2 separate regions of the Homo sapiens genome follow, and region 1 is linked to region 2. Evidence: promoter capture Hi-C in 16 types of primary human blood cells and fetal thymus (Javierre and others, 2016). All regions are on one chromosome and are shown on one strand. The core of a region is centred on a gene start or on the middle of the fragment in contact, and the rest is flanking DNA. Distances in the headings are between cores, read along the strand shown.

The links. Contacts are between HindIII fragments. The CHiCAGO score rates a contact against its expected background, and 5 or more counts as called.
Region 1: a contact is called between a fragment that was not itself captured here and the fragment with the promoter of CENPM in region 2, in 1 of 17 cell types (neutrophils). The highest score is 5.1, in neutrophils.

What each region holds. Positions count from the first base shown.
Region 1 is chr22:42,466,285-42,471,704 of GRCh38, reverse strand. No RefSeq gene overlaps it. Among named protein-coding and RNA genes, the nearest start is that of NFAM1, 37 kb to the right of the region's middle. The HindIII fragment of the contact is 2,751 bases long and covers 2,687-5,420 here.
Region 2 is chr22:41,943,744-41,949,452 of GRCh38, reverse strand. It overlaps CENPM (centromere protein M), which reads left to right and starts at 2,301. Exons shown (of 6, transcript NM_024053.5): 1 at 2,301-2,433; 2 at 2,957-3,036; 3 at 3,448-3,540; 4 at 4,149-4,228. The coding sequence starts at 2,377. It also overlaps a transcript of SMIM45 not described here. RefSeq lists an enhancer at 2,288-2,497. The HindIII fragment of the contact is 15,549 bases long and covers 1-5,709 here.

The DNA.
Region 1 (5,420 bases), core at 2,813-5,312, 520 kb before region 2:
ATGGATGGATGGATGGATGGATATGTGTGTGGGTGGATGGATGGGTGGATGGGTGAAAGGATGGGTGGGTGGGTAAGTGGATAGGTGGGTAGGTGGGTGAAAGGTTGGTGGATGAGTGGATGGGTGGATGAGTGAGTTGTTGGCTGGATGGGTGAGTGGATGGATGGATGGGTGGGTGGATGGATGGGTGGGTAGATGGGTAGTGGATGAGTACATGGGTGGATAGATCAAAAATAAAATGGGGATAAAAGGGATTGGAGATAGGCAAAGGAAGAGGTCATACTTTTTTCCTTGATGCCAACAATAAAAACTCTTAAAGCGTCTTACATGTACCATGACTTGCATCCAGACAACAGGAGACTTCTTGCCAACAGCCACATGAGTAAACCTCCTTGGAAGAAGATCCTCCAGATCTAGTCAAGCCTTCGGATGACTGCAGCCCCAGTGGACACCTTGACTGCAACCTCATTAAGATCTTGAACCAGAACCACCCAGATAAGCCACTCCCAAATTCTTGACCCACAAAAATCGTGAGATAATAAAAGCATCCATTGCTTTAAACCACTAAGTTTTGGGATACTTTGATATGCATCGATAATTAATAAACCTAGCAAACTTCAGCCTGTATCTCATTGTCCAAAACTGTGTCACTTGGCCACCCTGAGATACAGAGGGAGCTGGGAATATAATACGATAGTTGTAGTCATTTTAAAAGGACCATATTAGAACAAAATCGTGGTTCTATTCTTAAGGAAGTGGGGCAGAATGGATACTGGCTGTGCTCTTGGCAGTAACAGCCAAAGGAGGTTACATTTTAGCCAAACCTCACAGGTTGCAAAGGAGAGGAAGGGCATTTGGAGCTGAGAAAACAGCCTAATCAAAGGTATAGAGGCAAGAGAGTTCCTAACGAGAGCAGGGAATGGCTCCTAGTAAGTTCTGGGTAAATGCTAGCCCATGACTATTAATATACATAAGCAGAGGATTCTGTAGAAAGGATTTGTATTTTAACCTAAACTGTAAATACATATTGCATTATAGAATGAGGCATGAAACTGACTCATAAATGTGAGCTATCGTTATTTCTGGCTCTCTACTTTAGCTGTGTTCAGTTCCTTGGGTTAATTCCTAACAAGCCTGTGCTTTCTCTTGCATTTGCTCTGCTGCTGTTGCCAGAGGTCTGCCTTTTTCATGAGTCTTAAAGATCCAGCTGCAGTTTTGTGTATCCTCTATTCATTTTTTTCTTTGATTAATTTCTGTTTTTATCTTTATGATTTTCTTGTTTCATTCCTTCTACTTTTGTTTTTGTTGTTTTATTCTACTCTTTTTCTTACTTTTAGAGTTGGACACTTAGCTCATGAATTGGGAATCTTCTTATTCTTTTTTTTTTTTTTTTGAGATACAGTTTCATTCTGTCACCCAGGCTGGAGTGCAGTGGCGTGATCTCAGCTCACTGCAACCTCCGCCTCCCAGGTTCAAGCCATTCTCCTGCCTCAGCCTCCCGAGTAGCTGGGATTACAGGCAAGTGCCACCACACCTGGCTAATTTTTGTATTTTTAGTAGAGACGGGGTTTCACCAGGTTGGCCAGGCTGGTCTTGAACTCCTGACCTCAAGTGATCCACCCACTTTGGCCTCCCCAATTGCTGGGATTACAGGTGTGAGCCACTGCGCCCAGCCTTTTTTTTTTTTTTTTTTTTTGAGACAGGGTCTCACTCTGTCATGCCGCCCAGGCTAGAGTGCAGTGGCACAAACACAGCGCACTGCAGCCTCAACCTCCTGGGCTCAAATGATCTTCCTGTCTCAGCCTCCCAAGTCGCTGGGACTACAGGTGTCCACCACCACGCCCGGCTAATTTTTGTAAAGATGGGGTTTCACCATGTTGCTCAGTCTGGCCTTGAACTCCCAAGCTCAAGCAGTCTACCTATCTTGGCCTCCTAAAGTGTTGGGATCACAGGCATAAGCCACCAGGCCTGGCTGAATCTTCTTCTTTTCTAATGTGCGCAGTTAAGGCTGTAAATTTCCCTCTGCATACTCCTTTAGTGATATTCTTCGAGATTTATCACACAGTGACTTAATTATCTTTCAGTTCTAAATATTTTCTGATTTCCCTTATGATATCTTCTTTAACTTTTATGTTAGGCAATCCATGAATTTAAATTTTAAAACATACGGGTTTAGAAAATCATTTTATAATGTCTTTCTAACCTGATTGCATTGTAGCCAAATACCAATTTATTGTACGTGTTGAGCATGACACTGCGACCTGCTACACATGCAGTCTAAAAAAACTTTTTTTTTCATTTCAGTCTTAAAATTATTTCTTCAAAGACAACATGTACAATTTTTGTAAAAGTACTATGTGTGCTTGGAAAGATATAGTCTCTAATTCTTGGGTATAGGAGTCTCTTATTGCCCATTCATCTTTAGGAGAATATCTCCATTTTTGCCTGCTTGGTCTGTCAATTCCTGAGAGATGGATAGGATGCAGATTATGACTTTCTACTGTAATATTACATGTGGTGGCCATGGACTTACACCGCTCAGATTCCCCTTCAAAGGGACCTGACCCCAGTTGCTCCCAGGCAATGACTAATCACCAAGGGGGTGCTGGAGCCCCACCACATCTGCCTGGTGCAAGACTCCTCTAACAGTCATTGCTTGGAGACTCATCATCTGCCTGGCCAAGCTTGCTCAGAGTCCTGCTGCAGCCTGAGGCTTCCTTCTTCCCTCCCTCCTTTATACGTCAGACCTGCCTCTGTGGCCTGAAGGCTCTCCTGCTACTTCTTTGCTTCAGTCTCACTCTGTCTCCCAGCCTGGAGGGCAATGGCATGATCACTGCTCACTGCAGCCTCAACTTCCAGGGCCCAATGCAATCCTCCTGCCTCAGCCTCCGAAGTGGCTGGGACCACAGGCATGTGCCTTAGTGCCTAATTATTTTATTTTTCGTAGAGATGGGGGTCTCCCTATGTTGCCCAGGCTGGTCTCAACCCCCTGACCTCAAGCAATCCTCCTGCCTTGGCCTCCCAAAGTGCTGGGATTACAGGCATGAACCACCATGCCCAGCCCCTAGCCTGCTTCTGCACTCTCTCCCCTTCATCCTTCGCCAGATCTCTTGTGTATCTAATGCCATCTTGGTGTTTATTTCTTGAAATCCAAACTAGCACAGGGAATTTGTCCATTTCTCCTTGTAATTCTGACAATTCTTGACGTATTTTGGGGTACATGAAAGTTCTTATATATTGCTGATGAATTGTTCCTATTATTGTATATGATAATCCTAATTCTTAATAGCACACTTTATCAAATGTCTATGCCCCTGAACAATACATAGTATTGTTCTATATTTTTGCAACTTTAAAGTTGTTTTGAAGTATTCCTCTCCAATTTATGTTTTTGAGGTTTATTCATGTAGATATGTGTAGTTGCAGTTTATTTTTACTGCTTTACATTAATCTGTTATGTGAATAAAATACGATCTATTTATCTCCTCTGTTACTGAAGGACACATAGCTTATTTCCAAATTTTCTCTATTGCACATAAGGCTACTGTAGACTATCTTTTCTTTTCTTTCTTCTTTTTTTTTTTTTGAGATGGAGTTTCGCTTTTGTTGCCCAAGCTGGAGTGCAATGGCGTGATCTTGGCTCACTGCAACCTCTGCCTCCTGGGTTCAAGTGATTCTCTTACCTCAGCCTCCCTAGTAGCTGGGATTATAGGCATGTGCCACCACCCGCATGCTCATCTTCCACATGCGCCCTGCTAATTTTGTATTTTTAGTAGAGATGGGGTTTCTCCACGTTGGTCAGGCTGGTCACGAACTCCCTACCTCAGGTGATCTGCCCGCCTCAGCCTCCCAAAGTGCTGGGATTACAGGTGTGAGCCACCTCACCCAGCCTGCTGTAAACATTCTTACGCATAGAACATGGTGTTCATATACGAAAGTTTCCTTAGGATATTTGCCTGGCAATAAAACTCCTAGGTCATAGCACATGTACATCTTCAATAGAAAAAATGTCCAATTGCTCTCTGCAGTGTTTGTCCTTATTCACACACAACTAGCACAGATATGGGTTTTCTTGTCTCCATATCTTTGCCTATACTTGGTATTATTAGGCTCTGATATTTTTGACAATCTGATACTATCTTATTGTGGCTTTTTATGTATGTATGTATGTATATATGTATTTGAGATGGAGCTTTGCTCTTGTCACCCAGGCTAGAGTGCAATGGCGCGATCTCAGCTCACTGCAACCTCCGCCTCCCAGGTTCAAGTGGTTCTCCCACCTCAGCCTCCCAAGTAGCTGGGATTACAGGTGTGCGCCACCATGCCTGGCTACTTTTTGTATTTTTAGTAGAGATGGGGTTTCACCATGTTGGCCAGGCTGGTCTCGAACTTCTGACCTCAGGTAATCTGCCCGCCTTGACCTTCTAAAGTGCTGGGATTACAGGTGTGAGCCACTGCATCAGGCCAGCTTATTATTATTATTATTATTATTATTATTATTAGAGACAGAGTCTCACTGTATCACTCAGGCTGGAGTGCAATGGCATGATCACAGCTCGCTGCAGACTTGACATCCCAGGCTCAAGCAGTCCTCCCGCCTCAGCCTCCCAAGTAGCTGTGACTACAGCCATGCATCATGCCCAGGTAATTTTATTTTATTTTTGTAGAGACTGGGTCTCACCATGTTGCCGAGGTTGGTCTCAAACTCACAGGTTGCAGAGCTCAAGCAATCTGCCTGCCTTGGCTTCCCAAAGTGCTGGGATTACAGGTGTGAGCCATGGTGGCCGGGCCCAGTGGCTCACACCTGTAATCCCAGGACTTTGGGAGGCCGAGGTGGGTGGATCACCTGAGGTCAAGAGTTCAAGACCAGCCTAGCCAACATGGCAAAACCCCGTCTCTACTAAAAATACAAAAAAATTAGCCAGGTATGGTGACGCGTGCCTGTAGTCCCAGCTACTTGGGAGGCTAAGGCAGGAGAAGTGCTTGAACCTGGAAGGCGGCAGTTGCAGTGAGCCAAGATCGTGCCATTGCACTTAAGCCTGGGTGACAGAGTGAGAACCTGTCTCAGAAAAAAAAAAAAAAAGAAGGCATCTTGCCCGCAGCTATTCCATGTTGTGACCATGGATGGCCCTGTCTGCTGCTGCAAGTCATTCTTGCAAATAAAATAATTATCAACTTGTCTATATGCATAACATACTTTATATAAACTCTATCATATCAGTGGTGTTCCAAGAACAAATTTGGGAATCAAAATAAGTCTTAAAATCGGCAATGTTGACACATGAAGTGTTATTTGCAGTGACACATGAAGTACTGTTAACCTTGCTAGGAAATCCAAAAATTACATTATTTGAATATCACCCAATAATGGTCACTGGTTTTTCCCGTGTTGTAATATGCCCTATAGGCTACAGTTCTTT
Region 2 (5,709 bases), core at 1,052-3,551:
CCAGGAGTGCTTCCCACTCAGGGGCTTTCCACTTGCACTGCCTTCTGCCTGAGGCCTCTTCTTCATCATACTTAAGGGGCCCCTCTCTCACTGAATTCAAGCATCTGCTCAAATGTCACCTTAGGGAGGCCTCCCTGCTCTAAAGTAGCCTCCTCCCATCCATCTCTTCTGCCAGACAGCTTTAGTTTATCTTTCATTTTTTTTTTTTTGAGATGGAGTCTCACATGTCACCCAGGCTGGAGTGCAGTGGTGCGATCTCAGCTCACTGCAACCTCCGCCTCCCAGGTTCAAGTGATTCTCCTGCCTCAGCCTCCCGAGTAGGTGGTATTACAGGCGCCCGCCACCGCCACCATACCTGGCTAATTTGTTTGTTTGTTTTTTGTTTTTGTGATGGAGTTTCGCTCTTGTTGCCCAGGCCAGAGTACACTGGCATAATCTCAGCTCACTGCAACCTCTGCCTCCCAAGTTCAAGCGATTCTCCTACCACAGCCTCCCAAGTAGCTGGGATTACAGGCATGCACCACCACGCCCAGCTAATTTTGTATTTTTAGTAGTACAGACAGGGTTTCTCCATGCTGGTCAGGCTGGTCTCAAACTCCTGATGTCAGGTGATCCGCCCGCCTCGGCCTCCCAAAATGCTGGGATTACATGCGTGAACCACCATGCCCACCCTGCTCAGCTAATTTAAAAATTTTTTTGTAGAGATGAGGTCTCACTATATTGCCTAGGCTGGCCTCAAACTCCCGGCCTCAAGTGATTCACCCGCCTCGGTCTCCCAAAGTGCTGGGTTATAGGCATGAGCCACGGCGTTCAGCTTACTTTATTTTCTTGTCATAGTGCCTACTACTGCTTGACTTTCAGGAAGTCCTCTCCACACCCCATGCCATGAGGAATGAAAGCCGTATCTGTGCTGAGGGCAGTGGCTCTATGGGGCCATTTACGTCCTGATCTTTCTGAGCAAGACACAGTTAGTTTAGTCTGCAGTAAGAAGGATTTAGGCTAGACAGTGTCTCTGCTCTCCCAGTTATTACAACAATGAACACACTGTTATCATTGTCTATCCCACCCCCATCAAACTAAGTTAATCAATAATGTCTGATTCAACTGACTTCCTAGGGTAGGGCATTGGGTCTGGGCATAGGAAATGATGAATGAATGACTGCTGAGAATGAATGGATGAATGTAATCCATCCATTCACTCAACAAATATTTATTAACTACGATGTACCAGGGACTTTTAGAGTGCTGGACATACAAAGTGACAAAGTCTCTAACCTCTTGTTTCTTACATTTTAGATGTAGAGACAGTGAACAAGTTATTATATAACTGTTGGCAGAACCAGTTTGCTATGGGCCCTGAGCGTCCCTGCATGTTCTTGCTGGGTATGTCAAGAAAGCAAGACCCTGACAGCTCTGTACTCAGGCTGTGTTTGCAGCAAGGAACCTTGAAAGATGAGGTAAAGTCTCCCATTGGACAAAGAACAGCATGCTTACCACTCACTGTAAAAGCAGTCAATTGGCAGGGCCTGCTGGTGTGCAGCGGTAGTCCCAGCTACTCAGGAGGCTGAAGCAGGAGGGCTGCTTGAGGCCAGGAGTTTACGACCCACCTGGGCAACATGGCCAGATCCCCATGGTGGCACTTGCCTGTAGTTCCAGCTACTCAGGAGGCTAAGCCAGGAAGATGACTTGAGCCCAGGAGTTTGAAGCTGTAGTGAGCTATGATCGTGTCACTATAGTCCAGCCTGGGCAACAAAGTGACGCTCCAAAAAAAAAAAAAAAAAAAGGGCCAGGCACGGTGGCTCACGTCTGTAATCTCAGCACTCACTTTGGGAGGCCGAGGCGGGATCACTTGAGGCCAGGAGTTTGAGACCGGCCTGGGCAACTTGGAGAAACCCCGTCTCTACTAAAAATAAAAAAATAAGTCGGGCGTGGTGACGCGCGCCCGTAGTCCCAGCTCCTTGGGAGGCTGAGGCAGGAGAATCGCTTAAACTCGGGAGGCAGAAGTTGCAGTGAGCCGAGATTGCGCGCATTGCACTCCAGCCTGGGCCACAAAGCGAGACTCTGTCTCAAAAAAAAAAAAAAAAAGTACTGTGTATGAGCATGAATGAATGAAAGTGAACAAAGGAATCACTAAAAACCTGCTTACTGTGGAGCGTGGAACCAAAGGCCTGTCCACCACGTGTTCCACGGGTAGCGCTGGAACGCCCCTCAGAAAAGGAGATAAAGGTTCGGTTCCTTTAAGAGGCCCCGTCCCGTCCCGCGAAGCCCCGCCTATAAGGAGGCACGTGCCCCCAGGCCGCGCTCTAGGGGCTGGACTCAGGGCGGTTTGAAAGATCGGCGCGCACCGCAGGAGCAACGGTTGGTCCTGCGGCTGTGATGTCGGTGTTGAGGCCCCTGGACAAGCTGCCCGGCCTGAACACGGCCACCATCTTGGTAGGTGCAGGCGGCCCTGCTTCCCCCGCCGGTTTTTCCTCCTGGGCGGTGCTTCAGCCACTAGGTCAACTGAGCTCTCTGAGGCGCCAAGCCAGCGCGCGCTACCGTGGCGGGGGCGGGGAATAGGCGGAGAGCCATGCTCTGAACCAATTGGAGTAGCCGCTCTCTGAGGTTGAGGGACGCACCCACCAATAGGTGCTCGGCGGACCCTTTCCCAGCTTCTGATTGGCGAGTTCCCGCGCCTGGAATTGGTTTTCCCGCGTCTGGGGGTCTGGCCTCCTGGAGAGGCCGGCGGTGGGAGCGAGGGTCGGGTAGTAGAGAGTGCGGTGCCCACAGGCCTGCAGCGGGTCCAAACCTCAGGCCCCCAGCCCGTGCCGCTTCGCGGGGTCCACTTCTCGGGAAATGTCCTCCGAGCCGCCTGCTGGCGGTGTCCCGATCCCCCCGGGAGTGGGTCGAAGGGCCAGGCCCTCCCCAGGGGGTGCTGTGCCTAGGGCTCGACTGTCCGCTCTCTCTCCCTGCGCAGCTGGTGGGCACGGAGGATGCTCTTCTGCAGCAGCTGGCGGACTCGATGCTCAAAGAGGACTGCGCCTCCGAGCTGAAGGTGTAAGTAGCCGCGGCTGTGGCCTGGGCCCACGTGTCTCTCACTCCAGAGGGATTCGGTCCTAGCTGCTAAACTCCGAAGCCCAGCGCCCCCTCCTCTGAGGCTGGTCCTTCTCCCAGCATGCAGCGTAGCTGGCTAGTCCCATGCCGTCTTATATCCCAACCTCCCCTTGCCGAGGTGGTGACTAAACAGAGCCCGTTTCTGGCAGAGGGAATCAGACAGGAGTAATCTGAATAGGACCGGACCTGTCCTGCCTCTGTGCTGGCCCAAGGAGTCGTGGCCACAAGAGCCTCGGGTGGCTAGGATGAGGTGGGGAGCCCTTGACGGCCTCTTTCCACATGAAGGGCAGCATTTAAACGGTCGCTATGAGGGGGGTACGGATATCTTGAGTCCTGCAATTTCCTGTTTTTCAGCCACTTGGCAAAGTCCCTCCCTTTGCCCTCCAGTGTGAATCGGCCCCGAATTGACCTGATCGTGTTTGTGGTTAATCTTCACAGCAAATACAGGTGAGAGCCAGAGGAAGGGGCAGTCAGGGCTCAGGCAGGCCTGGCTCAGGACTGTGCTGAGACGGTGACCTAACTTGTGATGGGAAGTGGTGAGGATGGGAGAGGCTGGCTGAGGTCAATCTGTAAGGTGAGGAGAGAGGAGCCAGTGGTCAGTGCACAATGTTTAAAATACACAACGGCCGGGCACAATGGCTCACACCTGTAATCCCAGCACTTTGGGAGGCCAAGGTGGGCAGATTGCCCGAGACCAGCCTGGGCAACATGGTGAAACCCCGTCTCTACTAAAATACAAAAATTAGCCAGGCGTGGTGGCATGTACCTGTAGTCCCAGCTACTCGGGAGGCTGAGGCAGGAGAATCATTTGAACCCAGGAGGCAGAGGTTGCAGTGAGCCAAGATCGCGCTACTGCACTCCAGCCTGGGCAACAAAGTGAAACTCCATCTAAAAAAAAAAAAAAAAAAAAAATTAAAGGACAAATATTTCTCCAGAGAAAGTCACCCTCTTGTCATTCTCTGGCCTCTAGGATCAGAGAAGCAAGGACTTCTGCTTTCTCCGTTGTAAAGTTTTGTTCTCTGGTTTGTTTTCTCACCCTGGCCTGGCCACCCCAGTCTCCAGAACACAGAGGAGTCCCTGCGCCATGTGGATGCCAGCTTCTTCTTGGGGAAGGTGTGTTTCCTCGCCACAGGTGGTAAGTACGTTCCTCGCCTGTTACTGCCCACCCCCAGCCAAGGGAAAGCTGGGGCGGCCGTAGGCTTCTTGCTGAGGCACCCTGGGTGATGGAAAGAGCATGTATTTTACACACACTGGGGCCTATCGGAGGGTGGAGGGCAGGAAGAAGGAGAAGATCTGGAAAAATAACTAATGGGTACTAGGCTTAATACCTGGGTGACAATGATCTGTACAACAAACCCCATGACACAAGTTTTAACTACATAACAAATCTGCACATGTACCCCTGAACTTAAAATAAAAGTTAAATTTAAAAACCGAAAGAACACATATACACATACTTTGGAATCTGACCTGTTGTCAGCCTTTCTAAGAGTGAATATGAGCAGATAACTCTGCCATTACTTGGAGTTGCCTAGTGGTTGCCTGTGGCTTTCGGTAAAATCCAAACTCTAAAGACATAAAACACTTTGCAGTTTGGCCTCTGCCTTCTGAGCTAGTCTCATCTCCGGTGACTCTCCTTCTCTGGGTCAGCTTATCGTTCTCTGAAAAAGTCCTGCTGTTCCTGAGACTTTGTAATATTAACAGTGAAAATAATAATGGCTGACATCTTTTGAGCTGTCACTGTGAGGCAGACACGGTAATTGCTTTGTTTTCATATTCCTATTGGAGGTAGGTGTTATTACCTCTGTTTTACAGTCATGAGGTTAAGTTGCCCCAGGCCCCTAGATGAAAAGTGGTAGAGCCAAGGTTTACACCTAGGTAAGTCCTGTTACAGGGCCCGTCCCTTTTTTTTTTTTTTTTTTTTGAGACGGAGTCTCGCTCAGCCGCCCAGGCTGGAGTGCTATGGCGTGATCTCAGCTCACCGCAACCACCGTCTCCCTGGTTCAAGCAATTCTCCCATCTCAGCCTCCCGAGTAGCTGGGATTACAGGCACCCGCCATCATGCCCAGCTAATTTTTGTATTTTAGTAGAGATGGGGTTTCACCATGTTGGCCAGGCTGGTCTTGAACTCCTGACCTCAGGTATCCGCCTGCCTCAGATAGTGCTGGGATTACAGGCCTGAGCCACCGCACCCGGCCGTCCTCTTTTTGTTTACTCTAGGCTTCTGTCAAATACATTTCCTCTTCTTTGTCTTGCTAACCCCTACAAATACCTCAAAACTCAGCCCCAGTGTCACTCCGGCATGCATGAGGTGTCTGACCTGTCTGCCTTCCCAGCTGAACTGTTAGCTCCTTGAGCAGAGTGCCTGGCACAGATAATTCTCAAGAAGCATTGGTGAGCAAATGCAGGCCAAGTAATTTCTAGATGTCAACTCACTGACTCTAGAGTGACTCAGTGGGGTAGGAGCTATTATTATCTTCATTGTCTAATTTGATATTCTTGACTACCTAGAAAAGAAAGTAGAATAGGACTGTCACCCTCGCGACTAGAAAGAAACTGAGCCCCAGAGTGGGGAAGTGAGTGACTCTGCCCAGCACTTCCTGAATTCCAGCCAGG